Linked DNA regions of Homo sapiens: region 1 is linked to region 2. The links are contacts of gene promoters, found by promoter capture Hi-C in blood cells and fetal thymus (Javierre and others, 2016). All regions are on one chromosome and are shown on one strand. The core of a region is centred on a gene start or on the middle of the fragment in contact, and the rest is flanking DNA. Distances in the headings are between cores, read along the strand shown.

What was found. Contacts are between HindIII fragments. The CHiCAGO score rates a contact against its expected background, and 5 or more counts as called.
Region 1: a fragment that was not itself captured here is called in contact with the fragment with the promoter of MED4 in region 2 in 1 of 17 cell types (megakaryocytes); the score reaches 6.4 in megakaryocytes.

The regions. Positions count from the first base shown.
Region 1 is chr13:46,835,855-46,843,288 of GRCh38, reverse strand. All of the region lies in intron 3 of HTR2A (5-hydroxytryptamine receptor 2A), which reads left to right. Among named protein-coding and RNA genes, the nearest start is that of HTR2A-AS1, 13 kb to the left of the region's middle. The HindIII fragment of the contact is 808 bases long and covers 2,709-3,516 here.
Region 2 is chr13:48,089,398-48,096,386 of GRCh38, reverse strand. MED4 (mediator complex subunit 4) reads left to right here and starts at 1,283. Exons shown (of 7, transcript NM_014166.4): 1 at 1,283-1,433; 2 at 5,969-6,035. The coding sequence starts at 1,309. RefSeq lists a silencer at 1,780-2,074. The HindIII fragment of the contact is 8,460 bases long and covers 1-6,989 here.

The DNA.
Region 1 (7,434 bases), core at 1,863-4,362, 1.3 Mb after region 2:
TGTGATAAAGTTATTTTATAGATTAGACACAGTAAGAGACTAACAATCATTAATAATAAAATAGAACAATTATAACAATATGCCAACCTCACTACTCTTGCACTTTGGGGCCATTCTTGGGTAAAATAAGGGTTTCTTGAACACAAGCATTGTGATCCCACAATAGTTGATCTGCTGAAATGGCTACTAAGTGACTTATGGGCACAGAGCATCTGCAGCATGGATCCACTGTACCAAGGGATGGCTTACATCCCAGGTGGGGTGGAGTAGGACAACACAAGATTTTATCACACTACTCAGAACAGTTAACAATGTAAAACTTACGAATTGTTTATTTCTGGCATTTTCCATTTAATATTTTCGGACTGTGGTTGACTGGGTAACCGAAGCTATGGAAAGGGAAAGCAAGCTTAAGGGAGGACTACTGTATACCAAGCAAGCTACTGAGAGAAGACATATATGAGAGGAGGCAGGACTTGGGGGCTCCTTAAATCACACTCTGTGACTGGTTGAAAAATCTTGCTATGGGTAATATCCTCCTGAATAGTTCAAGACATAACATAAAGAAGAGAGCAACAGAGAGAGAACACCATATGACTATTGAGAAAGTTGAATAATTATGTTAAAATCAGATTACAAAGACCCTGTAGGGTGGGCTGAGTAGCTGGTAATTGCTCGAGTGTTAGGGACACTATAGGCTCTTGTGTAATATGATGGAAAAGGTGCTTTAGGATGCTGCATACAAGCGAGGCTGGAGGAAAGAGAACTGACTGTTGTGGGTCTAGATTATGTGCGCACCTGCCGCAATCTAGCTTTCCAGACACCATGGCTGTTTCTCCCCACACCTTCTAGACCAGAGTCTCTGAAATGAGACATGTCACATGTAAGACTCATTCTCCAAGCTTTCAGAGAGAATCACTCCAAAATCTGCCCCCTTGATAGAAATGGGAGAAAGGATACAATACTTTCAAGATGGGGCCCAATAATGTAGGACAGAGATGAGTTTTTTTTCTAAATAAATCTTTACTCATGAGCACGTTGCTAAATATGCAGCCTAGAAAAGAGCACCTGCTAGGGGTAGATAGTGTAATATCCACTCATTAAAAAAGAAGGAGGCAGGTCTTGATTTTGCCCCCAACTTTCTGTGGCATTGAAGAGTTTTATTTTTATTATTAATATTATTTTTCATTTGTGAATCATAATTGTATCATTGATGACGTACAAATGTGATATTTTGGTCGATGCCTACAATGTAGAATGATGAAATTAAGCTAACTAACATAGTGATCAGCAGAAGTTGCCTTATTACTTGTGATTCCAACAACAAAACAAGGCTCTGGTTATTTATTCAAATTATATTATATGGTTCAGATTCTCTTTGGGTTTTGTAATATATTGTCTGGGGGCTGAAATGGTAGATGAAAGTCAATCTTCTCTGAGACAAGAGAGATGTGGATGGGTTCTTAAGTGTTGCAGTGACGGCTGACAAGCCCCATCTACAAGCCAGAATTCAATCTCTTCGCCTTTCAGTGCAAGATCTTTATATTGAAGCACAACCTCTAGGCTATGAAATGGAAAAGAAAAGGAAGGAGGGTCAGAGGAGACAGAGACCACTTTATAAGGAATCTATGATGGGGGCAATTAGGCCACCAGCTTCTGCAGTGCACAACTGCTTACAGAGATCCCTGGAGTGGTTGTTGTTTTCATGTTTATGTAGTGCCTGGGCATTTATATTTTTTAAAGTACTAACATCAGAACCCCCGAGAATGAGGCTCAGGCAATGTAACTTTTAAAACTCCCTCAGTGATTCTAATGTGCAGCTACAGTTGAGAATAACTTCCCTAGTATTTGAAAGAAACTAAATGTTGATTATAAGGATTTTATTTTTGAACTATTTTTCTGGCCTCAATGAATTTAATGTCTGGCTAGAGGAACTTGTGGCTTTGAGATGAAAGAATGCAAAAACAAAATCAAGGTACAGAAAATCACTGGTGGGGGTGGTGGAGAGAGAGAGAGAGTTTGTGCTGTACATGCAACATCGGCGTATTAGTCTGTTCTCACACTGCTATAAAGAAATGCCCAAGACTGGGTAATTTATAAAGGAAAGAGGTTTAATTGACTCACAGTTCCACATGGCTGGGGAGGCCTCAGGAAACTTACGATCATGCCAGAAAGGGAAGCAGGTGCATCTTACATGGTGGCAGGTGAGAGAGAGCGTGGGAAGGAGGAACTGTCAAACACATAAAACCATCAGATCTCGTGAGAACTCTCACTATCACGAGAACAGCATGGGAGAAACCTCCCCATGATCCAATCACCTCCCACCAGGTCCCTGTCCCGACATGTGGGGATTATGAGGATTACAATTCAAGATGAGATTTGGGTGGAGACACAGAATGAAACCATATCAATTGGTGTAATTTAGTGCTTATTAGTCATATTAGGGGCTAGAATTTTTCTGCCCATCTAAGGAAAGATCTATCTCCAAGGAAATATACATATATACAAATTTTTCAGATTTTAGGATTATCATAGACTTCCTGAAGCCAATGTTAAAAACCTCAGAGGTAGTCATAGACTTTTGTAACTACCTTCAAAGGAACAAATAAGCAGTTTTTAAAAATCCACCATAAGAATTAAGAACCCTGAGTAGAGGTCTTGATTTTGCCCCCAACTTTCTGTGTGATTCTAACTAAATTACTTAAGCTTGGTAGGCCCAAGTTTTCATATCTGTAAAGTGAGATTTTCATCTGCCCCATAAGAAGGTGTGGGTAATGTTTTAACAATTTTGTAAAAATCAATTTAGAGTGAATAAACAAATATGTGTGATAATACCTTGAAAAGTTGCAATTTATTATCAGAGCTATTTGGAATTAATCTGAGAAAAAGAAACATACAGCTTTTGGGTAACTGACATGTTTGTGTAGCTCTCATTTTTATGTACATCTGCCTTGTCAACACACCATACATAGATTAGAAGGAATTTAGCCACTCTGTATCAGGATAGTGAGTCCCATTGGCAGTTGCCCTATATATTCAATTCTTCTTTCCCTGTAATATGAGGATTATCCTGCAGTGTTTACCAGTGGTGTCTTCTGTCAAACTACTAGTAAATTTGTTCTTATAACTTGAAAAATACAGCATGCATTAAAATTCAAAGAAAAGGTAGCAGTTTGGGGAAACAGAAACCTATGAACCCAAATTTCAATCTTTTTCACAAGAGCCCCGAAATAACTTCTCTGCCCTCCACCTCCTTTCCAGCTGAGGGCCCTAGGGACTGCCACTGTCCTGTTCCCTACAAGAGAATGGTTATCTAGGAAGGCAATCTTCTTATTTCCCAAGAAATGTACACTGTCTCAGAAAAAGTCCAAGATTAAGAATAAAGCCAGTCCTTCACAGCCAGCGGTTCAAAGTGAATTATTGATGCAGCCTGTGGTAAGATGTTAACTAGAGGTGCAAAGTTTATGTGCAGGAAGTAAGCAGAGCCATGCTGAAAGAAAGACACCAACCAAAGCTTTTGTGTTCTTAGGTGTCAAGGTTTCCCATTCATTTTATTGTCTGAGTTTCAATGGAAATGAATAAAATGCTACATAGAGGATCTAATACTGATAGTGAATTTTGACTGCTGTTTTCCACTCTTCAGAAAAAATATATTAAACAAAATGCAGAGTCATGTAATTCAGGTTACTGTCTGTTTTGTTCATAAAGGAAAATGCTTTATATGCAGAAATTTCAAGTGAGAGGAGATGTCAGGTCTCCAAAAGCAGCTATTGTCAAACAAAGCAGCCAGATAATTAATGCCCTAGAGATGGCTGTGACCACGATATTGGATATCAGCCCATGTCTTCATCTCTCTTGGTAGAGGCACATGCTTTTGAGCTGCTGATTGTACCCACAAAGCCTATCTATGTGTTCTAAGTTTTTTGACATAAAATTTCCTCTCCTCTTTATAGAGTATTACTTTAACTTTCTGGTTATTCTTTCTACAACCCTTGCTGACCAGATACTATGAGTGAGGCATGGAAAAAGAATGGTATACGATAGTATTCAGGATGTTTTTGTTATATGTAAAGATGAATAGGCCATTTAAATAACTGATCAGCTTGATTCTCCACTTCCAAATTAATATCCCCCTTCCAGACAGAACAGCTCTGCGTGTAACCTCTTACCACATCCTCTTGTAGAGTGGCTTTTTATCCCGGGCATTTAAGAGAGGGATTCTCTATTTCAGTGCAGATGACTCCATCACCCCTCTCAGAAACTGGGCTATTCTGTAAGGGTGTGTGTGTGTGTGTGTGTGTGTGTGTGTGTATGTGTGTGTCCAACCAAAGACACTATTCCAAATAATTAAAGAATTTGGCATTTTAGGTAAGCCCACATTCTGGTTAATTGAGAATTGCCACTTATGTACATTACTAGGTTATAAGCAAATAGGGCAAAAGGCTCTCAAGGTAGTTACTTCCTTTGTATTAATTAGAAAAAGAACACTCAAGAGTTTAATAACAAAATCACACACCTTTTTTGGACGGTTGATATCTTGTTTCTGTGTATCATGACTAATAGTAATGCTGTAATTCATCACATTAGGAAAGTAATCAACAGTTCTAGCTGCACAAAATTAAAATTGATTAAGACCCGGCGTCACCCTGGCAGAAGCTAAAATTACATCAGTGTTAACTCTACGGCCAATAGCCAAAAGTCTTTTTAGTCTCTTTTGGTTTAAAAAGATCTGCTATATAAAATCTAGTGTATACAAACTAAGCAAAATGGATTAGAATAAAATAATGTTGATATATTTAATATAAATAGTTCTGCAGAGAAAGCTACTCTCATGTTTATTGACCACTGGTAGAACATCACTATGGACTGGGTGCTGTGCTAGGTGCTCTGCAAATTTGATCCATTTTATCCTCACCAAATGCATGAAGGTATGTTGGTGCCAGCCTCCCACGATAGATGAAGAAGTGGGGACTATAGGAATGAAGTAACCAATTCAGGAGCCCAGAGCCACAGCCAAGACTCAAATCCAGGGATGTCTCAAATGGTTGAACAAAGCATCCTTTCTAATCAATGAGCAACTGTGCTGTCTAAGAAGACCTTGTACATGAGTACAGGAAATATCTTTCACAGATCTAGATTCAAACACTGGGAGAAAAACACTCTTCTTAGAAATCATGCCCTTACTTTTACAATCAAGAGTTTTCCGAAGGATAAGCAAAACTGGTCAATATCCAGGGTCTCAGAGGATGTTCTCCTTGGAGGCACAGCTCATCAATCTCTTCTTGAATGTTGCAAACAATGGGCCAGGAACAGAGAGGGATGGAGGAAATGAAGAGTCATTAGCCACAATAAGTGTCCTTATGAACAGCTCTGATGTCATTTATCTCCACCTTCCAAGAATCCTGGATGGGCTTGCATAGGCAAGTGACAAATATTGTTAATTAAGTCTTTGAAGATAATGGCAAATGTCACTAAGAAAGATTTGTGTTGAATATTACATCAACTCAGCGTTCTTTCCTGGCCACGATGGCCAATGTGAGGTGACATGAGGTTAGGACAGTCATGCCTGTGCTTGGATGAAGCGGAACTCTGTTCTGAGTATGCAGAAGTTAGATTAGAGATTCTCCAAAAACCTTTTTCCAGATGGATGGCAAGAGTGAGGCAGTGGCCCCCAATTCTGGAATAAACCGGTGTTCTTGGCTGGTGTGAGACCATGTATTAGACTCTAAAGACGGTCAGAAGCAGTAACCACAACACTCTTTGTTCTACAATTCTGAGTGTGCTGATAATATGGGCAGGAGTTAGAAGGGAACTATTTTTCTGACTTTTTCTCCCAGGCTGTCCCTGCAATATCTACCATTTCATGAAAGAAACAATCTTAAACTAAGTTATACAGAGTACTTGATTCATGTTTCCTCTCTTTTTTATCATCCTGATTCTACCTTTATGGCAGAGAGAATAAGCCATCTCATGATTGCCTTGGACCAACCATCCCAGGCCAGTAGAGAAAGATACACCTATTTCCCCAGGAGCAGAGAGGTTGTCCATGGTGGGGGCTGGGTGGTGAAACTGCACAACATGGCCAGTTGAATCTTCCTTTAAAAAGGTCCTATCATCAAGTGGGGCACATAGCATGATTAGAGGCCAGGGGTTGCCTTTATTCACTTCTGCTTCCTCCTCTGCCTAATCCCTGTACCTGAGGGAGCCTTACAGATCCCCCAAATCTGGGTGATGGAGCAATGAACCATATAGGCCCATGTTCCCCTGTATTATCTCATCCTATACCTACTTTTTATATTTGTCAATAAAAAGTCTATGGCTGTCTTGTTTTTTGCAATCCATCCTTATGAATGCTCTACTACTAAAAACATAGAACAACCTTTATGGGACAATTGGAAATTTGAACACTAACTCTACATTTAATATTAAGGAAATATTAAACTTCTATTTAGGAGTGAGAATGGTATTGTGAAAATATTAGGTTTGTCTAAGAGTGCATGGCTTTTAGATCTACGTAATAAATATTTTCAGATTGAATGACATGATGTCTAGGATTTGCTTCATAATAACATGGGAGGGATGGCAGCCAGAGGACATATGGATGAAACAAGATTGGGCTTGAGCTGATAATCTTTGAAGCTGGGTGACGAGTTCACTGTACTGGGTTTGGTTTTTGGTTTGTTAGTTGTGTGTATGTTAAAAATGTCCCATAATAAAAGCTTTTTTAAAAAGAATTAAAATTGGTTATTTTAAATTAATATTAGAAAATTGTATTTCTCAAAAATATTTTATGTGCAATTATCATGATTTATAATGTTAAATGGAATAGGAAGATCTAAAACATATAAGGTACAAAGTACTGCATGTAAAGTACTGCATATACACATTTGCTTTTATATGTACATGTAAGTGGAAGAAGAAATGATGCAAATGTAAATTATGGTTGCCCCTGACTGGTGAGAATACATATTATTTTTCTTTATTCATTGTTACATTTTTGTACCTCCCAAATTTTCTAGAGAGAAAATAAACTATATTTAAAATTTTATAGTTATTTTTATATATAAGCCATGCTTGTGACATATTATTAGATTTTTTAAAAAAGATACAGAACTATTTGTGAAAAAGAACCTCAATTCTGTTTTAAAATGTGTGCACATGGTAAGTGTGTGAATGTATCTAAAATGAACAGCATCAAAAAAAGAAACAAATCTATATTCTAGATTTTCATAGACAAAAATAAATAAATATATAAATAAATAAAATGAACAGCATCAGTTGTTAATTGTGGCTATCTCTAGATGGTGACGTTATTGGACAATTTTTAGTTTATTTGCCTCTCTGTGTGTTTCTTCAATTAATAAGTATAATATTATAATCAGAAAAATGTGGCATAAAAAATAAAGCTAGATTTATTATACTTCTTTATAAGGG
Region 2 (6,989 bases), core at 34-2,533:
TACTACTACCTCATGGGAGTGAGGCAGTCCCAGACCATCTTTTATAATAGCAATATGGAATCCTCATTCCCAATAGGCTTGTAACTTTGCTTTTTTCTGGTAGAGAGTGATCCCTACTACATTGTTATCCCTAGGAAAAGTAGGCTAAGACGTATTTTTGCCTTTGACAACCAGTTCTGGTTTGGAATGTGTGGTACATCAATGACTTAAACTATGTTAATTAACTACTACTTATGTACTGTATTGGTTCCTTCAGTTCAATAATTAACCTGAGTAATGAGCAAAACATTTTGTTGGAAGATGTATGGCTATAAAGATGGATTATAGCAATGTGGAAGTAACCTAACTGTCCATCGTCAGATGAATGGATGAACAAAAGGTGCCATATGCATACAATGGAATATTAGTCTTAAAAAGGAAAGATATTCCAGCACATGCTACATCATGGATGAACCTGGAGGACATAATGCTGAGTGACATAAGCCAGACACAAAAAGACAAATACTGTATGATTCTGCTTATATGAGGTACCTAGAGTAGCCAAACTTACAGCAATGGAAAGTAGAATGGTGGTTGCCAGGGCCTGGAGAAGGGAGGGATAAGGAGTTAGCATTTAGTGAGTACAGAGTTTGTTTTACAAGATAAAAGGTTTTGGAGATGGATAGTTGCTCAACAGTATGAATGTATTTAATGCCACTGAACTATCCACTTAAAAATGGTTAAGGTGGGCCGGGTGCGGTGGCTCACGCCTGTAATTCCACCACTTTGGGAGGCTGAGGCAGGCGGATCACGAGGTCAGGAGATTGAGACCATCCTGGCTAACAAGGTGAAACCCCGTCTCTACTAAAAATACAAAAAATTAGCCGGGCGTGGTGGCGGTCGCCTGTAGTCCCAGCTACTCGGGAGGCTGAGGCAGGAAAAATGGCGTGAACCCAGGAGGCGGAACTTGCAGTGAGCCAAGACATCCGCGGCGATGCACTCCAGTCTGGGCAACAGAGCGAGACTCGTCTCAAAAAAAAAAAAAGAAAGAAAGAAAGAAAAAAAACCATTAGGCCCAGGAGAATCAGACTGCGTTGCCCCCACTGTTCTCAGTTCAGCTGTCGCTCCCAGGGTTTGGACCAGAAAGCCCTCGCCGGCCCAACAGATGGCGCCGGTGTCCGCAGTGCGCCTCCAGGCCCAAAGGGGGCGCTCTCGCCAGGCCTCTTTTTCCTCTCCTGGGTGACTCTTCCGCCTTCCGAGCCCGCCTTCTCGCCACGCACCTGCGTCAGCTCGCTCTGCGCGTGCGCCGGTGGCGGGACTCTGGGGAAAATGGCTGCGTCTTCGAGTGGTGAGAAGGAGAAGGAGCGGCTGGGAGGCGGTTTGGGAGTGGCGGGTGGTAACAGCACACGAGAGCGGCTGCTGTCTGCGCTTGAGGACTTGGAGGTCCTGTCTAGGTAATGCGGCGAGCCTGAGAGCCGGGCTGGAGCTGGGCCGGGGGACTGACCCCGGAGCCGGCCGGCCCTGCGTTTGTGCTCGTTCTCGGGGTTCGGCGGGGAGGGCCAGCTCGGGAGTTTCGGGTGCATGAGGGTCATGGACGTGGGGTCCGCAGCCCTCTGGCACTCTGGGCGGCGGTTTTTCCCGTTAGAGGGAATTTTAGTAATGATAAGAACTCGCGCGGTCTGAGCCTCTTCGTCCGCGGCCAGCCACTTAACATTTATGGAACGCTCCTTGGGGGCTCAGCATTGGGGAGACGGTAGTGAAGGGTAGACTGGATGCCAGCTGTCGAGAGAGAGACAGATGTGTAAACTGGCTTGGGGCCTGTTTTTATTAGAGGGCTGCGCTGCGGGGTACTGGAGCACAGGGACTAGGCACCTTTTTTGGTTGTAGTCAGGGCAGGCCCTCTGAAGAAAGTGCTGCTTGGGAAGCATGAGCTCGCCAAACTCACTAGGCAGCACAGATAGATGGAACAGCAAGTGCAAAAAGCCTGGCTTGGTGGAGTTGCAAGTTGTTTAGGATGGTTGTGTGTCAGAGATAGGAGATGAAATTAGATGTCGTTCTTCATATTCTGTCACCTTTCATGATAAGTCTTTCAAGTTGAAGCCTTCCTTGACTCCCTCCCATTGACTTGGATGGTAAATTATCTTGGTTCTACCTCCTAAAGTGTCGCTCCAATTTGCCCTCTCGTTCCAACCCCGCTGTTCATAACTCCTTCTTAAATGTAGCCTCCCAAACAGTTTTAATTGCCTCATGCTTCTGCACTTTATCCTTTTATATTGGCCGATACCAGTTTTAAAAGGCATCTTATATCACTTTTCTGCAGAAAAATTATATAAAAGCTACCTCATTGGTAGGTTTGCGTTGTCCAGTGAGGTAAAGTTCAAATTCTTTAGTCAGACTTCCACATCTTCAGTGCCATTCCCAGTCTACTCCCGATTTGGTGAATGATTCATATATCCTTCAGAATCCAGCTCAAATGTCACTTTTTCTATAGCCAACATTCTTTGACAGCTTTAGAATAAATCTTACCTGTTGTATTTTAAAATATACGTGATATAATCAGCACTTTATTTTTGGTGTAAATTTAGTCCTTGCCATCGTATTGCTACCAAGTTACCAGGTCAGCACAATATTTAATGATGGAAGAAAACCCGAAAACACCTAGACAGCAGAAATTAAATGGCTTATGTGTTTGATCCACTGTTTAAAATAAACTGTATTAGGGCCGGGTGTGGTGGCTCACGCCTATAATCCGAGCACTTTGGGAGGCCAAGGCGGGCGGATCATTGGAACTTCTTCACAGAATGAAGCTGCTCTGGTGGTGTGACTGGCTTCCAGAAAGGTCTCATGTGTTCACTCAGAGGTAGTTATGTGTACTGATTCTGTGATCTGTGAAGTTTGTCAGTCTCTGAATGTAATTTGTGTCTGGCTTGCATTTATGAAAATGAGAAGAAAAATCACGAATATACCTTACATATTTTTAGATTTAGCCTCTTTAAAAATAGTGGATTTATAACTTAGGATCTTTTTTTTTCTATTAACCTGATTATATAGCCTTTCGGGATATTTATTAGTTTATAAAATGTAATGCAAGGAGATAGTCTTAAAAAGTTGAAACACAGGTTGTAGGCTAAACGTTTTTTTTAACCCATTTGTAACTCAAAACTCATTGTTCCACAGAACCATGTTGATAGGAATCTTGAGTTTTCCACACCAGCCTGTTAATTCTGTTTACCTGAAAAGTGTATTACTGCTAATAATGTAGGCTCTAACCGCTATGGAAATTTTATTTCTATGGGGAATTGTGTCTGGATTCTAATGCAGTATGCTGGGAATGCACCTTCTTTTTAGCAGGACAGGGCTCTTGAGTGTGGGGGCTTCCTTTGGCCTCTTTTTCGCAGTTGGGGAGGACAGGGGTTTCTATTTTGTCCTGGACTGTTACAGAACATGACTAAGTCTTAGAGACTTCTACCTCCCCTCTACTCCGGCGCCTAAGGCAAGCCTTGTAAAGCCTTCTGTGGACTCACGCTCCCAGATTTGCAAGAACAGAGGAAGGCTTATCCCACATCTCCTACCATAGCCCCACTCTAGTCAGCACCACTCCTGCCCCACCTGAAACCAGCTTTTACTTAGACCAGAGGTTCTCAACCGTCTATGTCTCACTTGTGGCGTACACTAAAAAGTTTACTTAACATGCTGTTTTCATACGCTGTTGATCCATCAGCAAGTCCTGTTAGCTCTACCTCCAAAAGATATCTGAAATCTGTCCATGTTTCTCCCATCACGATTACTAAGTCCTGGAGGCTATAACCTCGTCAAAACCAGTGTCATTTTTTGCCTGGAACACTACAGAAACCACCTAACTTACTTCCTGTTCTGGCCCTCTTACAGTCTATTTACCAGATCACTCAACAGTTTTTAAAAGTATAAATCAGGTCATGCCATTTCCCTGTTTAAAATAACCCAGTGGCTTCTCATTGCATTTAGAATGAAACACTAGGCCGGGCGCAGTGGCTCATGCCTGTAATCCCAGCACTTTGGGAGGCCGAGGCCGGCGGATCACCTGTGGTCGGGATTTCGAGACCAGCCTGACCAACAGGGAGAAACCCCATCTGTACTAAAAAAAAAATACAAAATTAGCCGGGCGTGGTGGCACATGCCTGTAATCCCAGCTGCTAGGGAGGCTGAGGCAGGAGAATTCTTTGAACCCGGGAGGTGGAGGTTGGGGTGAGCCGAGATCGCGCCATTGCACTCCAGCCTGGGCAACAAGAGCAAAACTCCATCTCAAAAAATAAAAAATAAAAAAAGAATGAAACACTAATCTTTACCATAACTATAAGGCCCTACGTAATCTCACCCCTAGCCACCTGGCTGCTACATCCTCACTTTGCTTTCCTCTCCCCATTGTGCCAGGCCCTGGCTACACCTCCTCAGCTCCATCTTTGGGGCACTGAACTGTCTGTGTCTTCTACTGTGCTCTTTCCTTCCAGACATCTTGGCTGACTTCTCTCATTTAATCCGTGTCTTATGTCAAAGCTGTGCCCTTAGGAAGACCTTCTCTGACCACCCTATTGAAGTAGCCAACCCACTCCCCCAGTAGTCTCTAATAAAACATTGCTTTATTTCCTTCCCAACCCTTATCACTCTAGGTTTATTTCTTCTCTTAGTTCTTCTTGTCTCTTGTATTAGAATTTAAGTGCCATTGTTCACTTTGATACCCCAAGTATCTAGAAAGTGCCTGGCACATGATAGGCACTCAATAAATATTTGATGAATTAGTGAATAAATGAAGACTTTGCATTCTTATATCTACTTTTTTCATTCATTGATTAATTCATAAATAATGGTATGGGGAAGTAGTAGTGGGAAGGGTTGGGTCTAATTGACATGATCCAGAAAAATGATATGATGCTAGCTGGAAGGAAGGTGGAAATTTGAAGGTAAAAATAGCCTGGTAGCCAGTGAGAAAGTACAAATGCTCAGGCTGATCAGAGCAGTGTCAGGTAGCTAGTTGTGAAGCTGCCCCTTCTGCATAATTTCTCAAAAGTCCCATCTATCAACAAGTTTGAAACTAATATATAAACATTACCTGCTATACATTTTTCCCAATCTTATTTTGCTCATCAGATACTAATTTTCATACAGGGAAATTGTCATATTTATTAAATGAGCATTCTAAAAGGATATCATTTTATTATGTGTAAGGATCCCTCTTAGTTGATGTTTAATTTAAAAAATTCAAATAAAGTGGAGAATCATTAAAAAATGGTCCATGCATCCCTTAATTGTTTTATTTTACCTTAAAATATATAAACATATGTTCATTCACTAATCATGTTATGTAAGACAGGAGTCAGAAAACTTTTTCTGCAAAGGCCAGATAATAAATACTTTTGGGTTTATGGGCCATATAGTCTCTGCTGTAACAACTCAACTCTGCCTCTGTATTTAGGGAAAACTGCCATAGACAATTTGTATATTAATGGGCAGACTGTCTTAGGAAAATGTTATTTACAAAAACTGCAGAAGTGCTGGATTTGGCCTGTAGACCCCTGATGTATGAGTTTTTCTTGCATAAATCGCTCATAATGCATTGTCTGCAATTTGTAGTTTGATTTCTAGATCAAATCAAAATGAGAACTTATCCTCTTATCAAGCAGTCTTAGGGCAGACCCTTAGTTTTTATGACTTTTCCCTGGTCCTTTCTTTATAGCTGTCCTTTGCAAGCCTCTGTAGAGTCTTTCCAAGCATTAGGCTTAGGTTTTTATAGAAAGAACTCTCTCTATTCACAATAGTCTTTCATTGGCATTTAGGTGATAGCTATTTATATAATGATAGTATTAAGTAGAACTTTTATAAATAAGTTTGGTAACCGGCACAAGCGAGTCTTGGTGAGCTGTAGTTCACAGTCAATAGCGGACTGTAGGGAGTAGCCCTGAGTGTTCAGTATGCTGTGAAAGGGTTTTTGTTGTTGTTGGTTTTTTTTTTTTAGGGAACTTATAGAAATGCTGGCAATTTCAAGAAACCAAAAGTTGTTACAGGCTGGAGAGGAAAACCAGGTAAGTGGCTTCTTTTTAAATTAGTTAATTTCTCTTTGTTTTTTAATTAAAAGAAAAAAACTTGATTTCTGCAAGTTTCCTCTTTATATTTACTTTGTGTGGGAACAGGAATGTTGGATCCTTTTAAGTTATTAATTAAAACTTTAATATTGGTATTTTCTTTGTATCATTTACTTAAGATAACAGTGCGCTTAAGAAGAATAGTTGCCTGAGGGTTTAGCAGTATTTTGTTATTTTCTCTTACAATTCTAGTCACACTTACATGTTTATTTATTTTTGTCCTTTGAATTAACCAAGAAAGGCTTGTTGTATGGAGATTACAACAATATTTAGAATCAAAAGTTAATGCTCAAAAACTTACCGTGTATTGTAAGTATAGTTCCCTAATGCAACTTGAACATGCAGGGAAATAAAAGAGCATACAACTCTTATTAGACATTGCCTTATAGGGGTGAAAGTACGGGCAGTTTTTATTTGCTCACTTTTCGGTGCTTTCTAATTTTCCATGGTGGGTGAACAGACTTTTTTTCCTGATTCAGAATTTTTTTAGAGGTAAGAGGATAAATTTTATATTATGTTTTTGGCACAGTTTTTTCTTTTTTGAGACAAGTTCTCGCTCTGTAGCCCAGGCTAGAGTGCAGTGGCATGATGACTGCTCACTGCAGCCTCAACCTGCTGGACTGAAGCGATCTCCCACTTATCCTCACCAGTATCTGGGACTATAGGCATGCGCTATAATGCCTTGCTAATTTAAAAGAAATTTTTTTTTTTGGTAGAGACATAGTCTCACTGTGTAGCCCAGGTCAGTCTTGAACTGTCTTGAACTCCTGTCCTCAAGGGATCCTCCCCACCTTGGCCTACCAAAGTGCTGGGACTATAGGCATGAGCCACCATAGCTGGCCAAAAAAAATGTTTAAGAGAAAATGAATGGAGAGGATTAACCTTTCTAAAGAT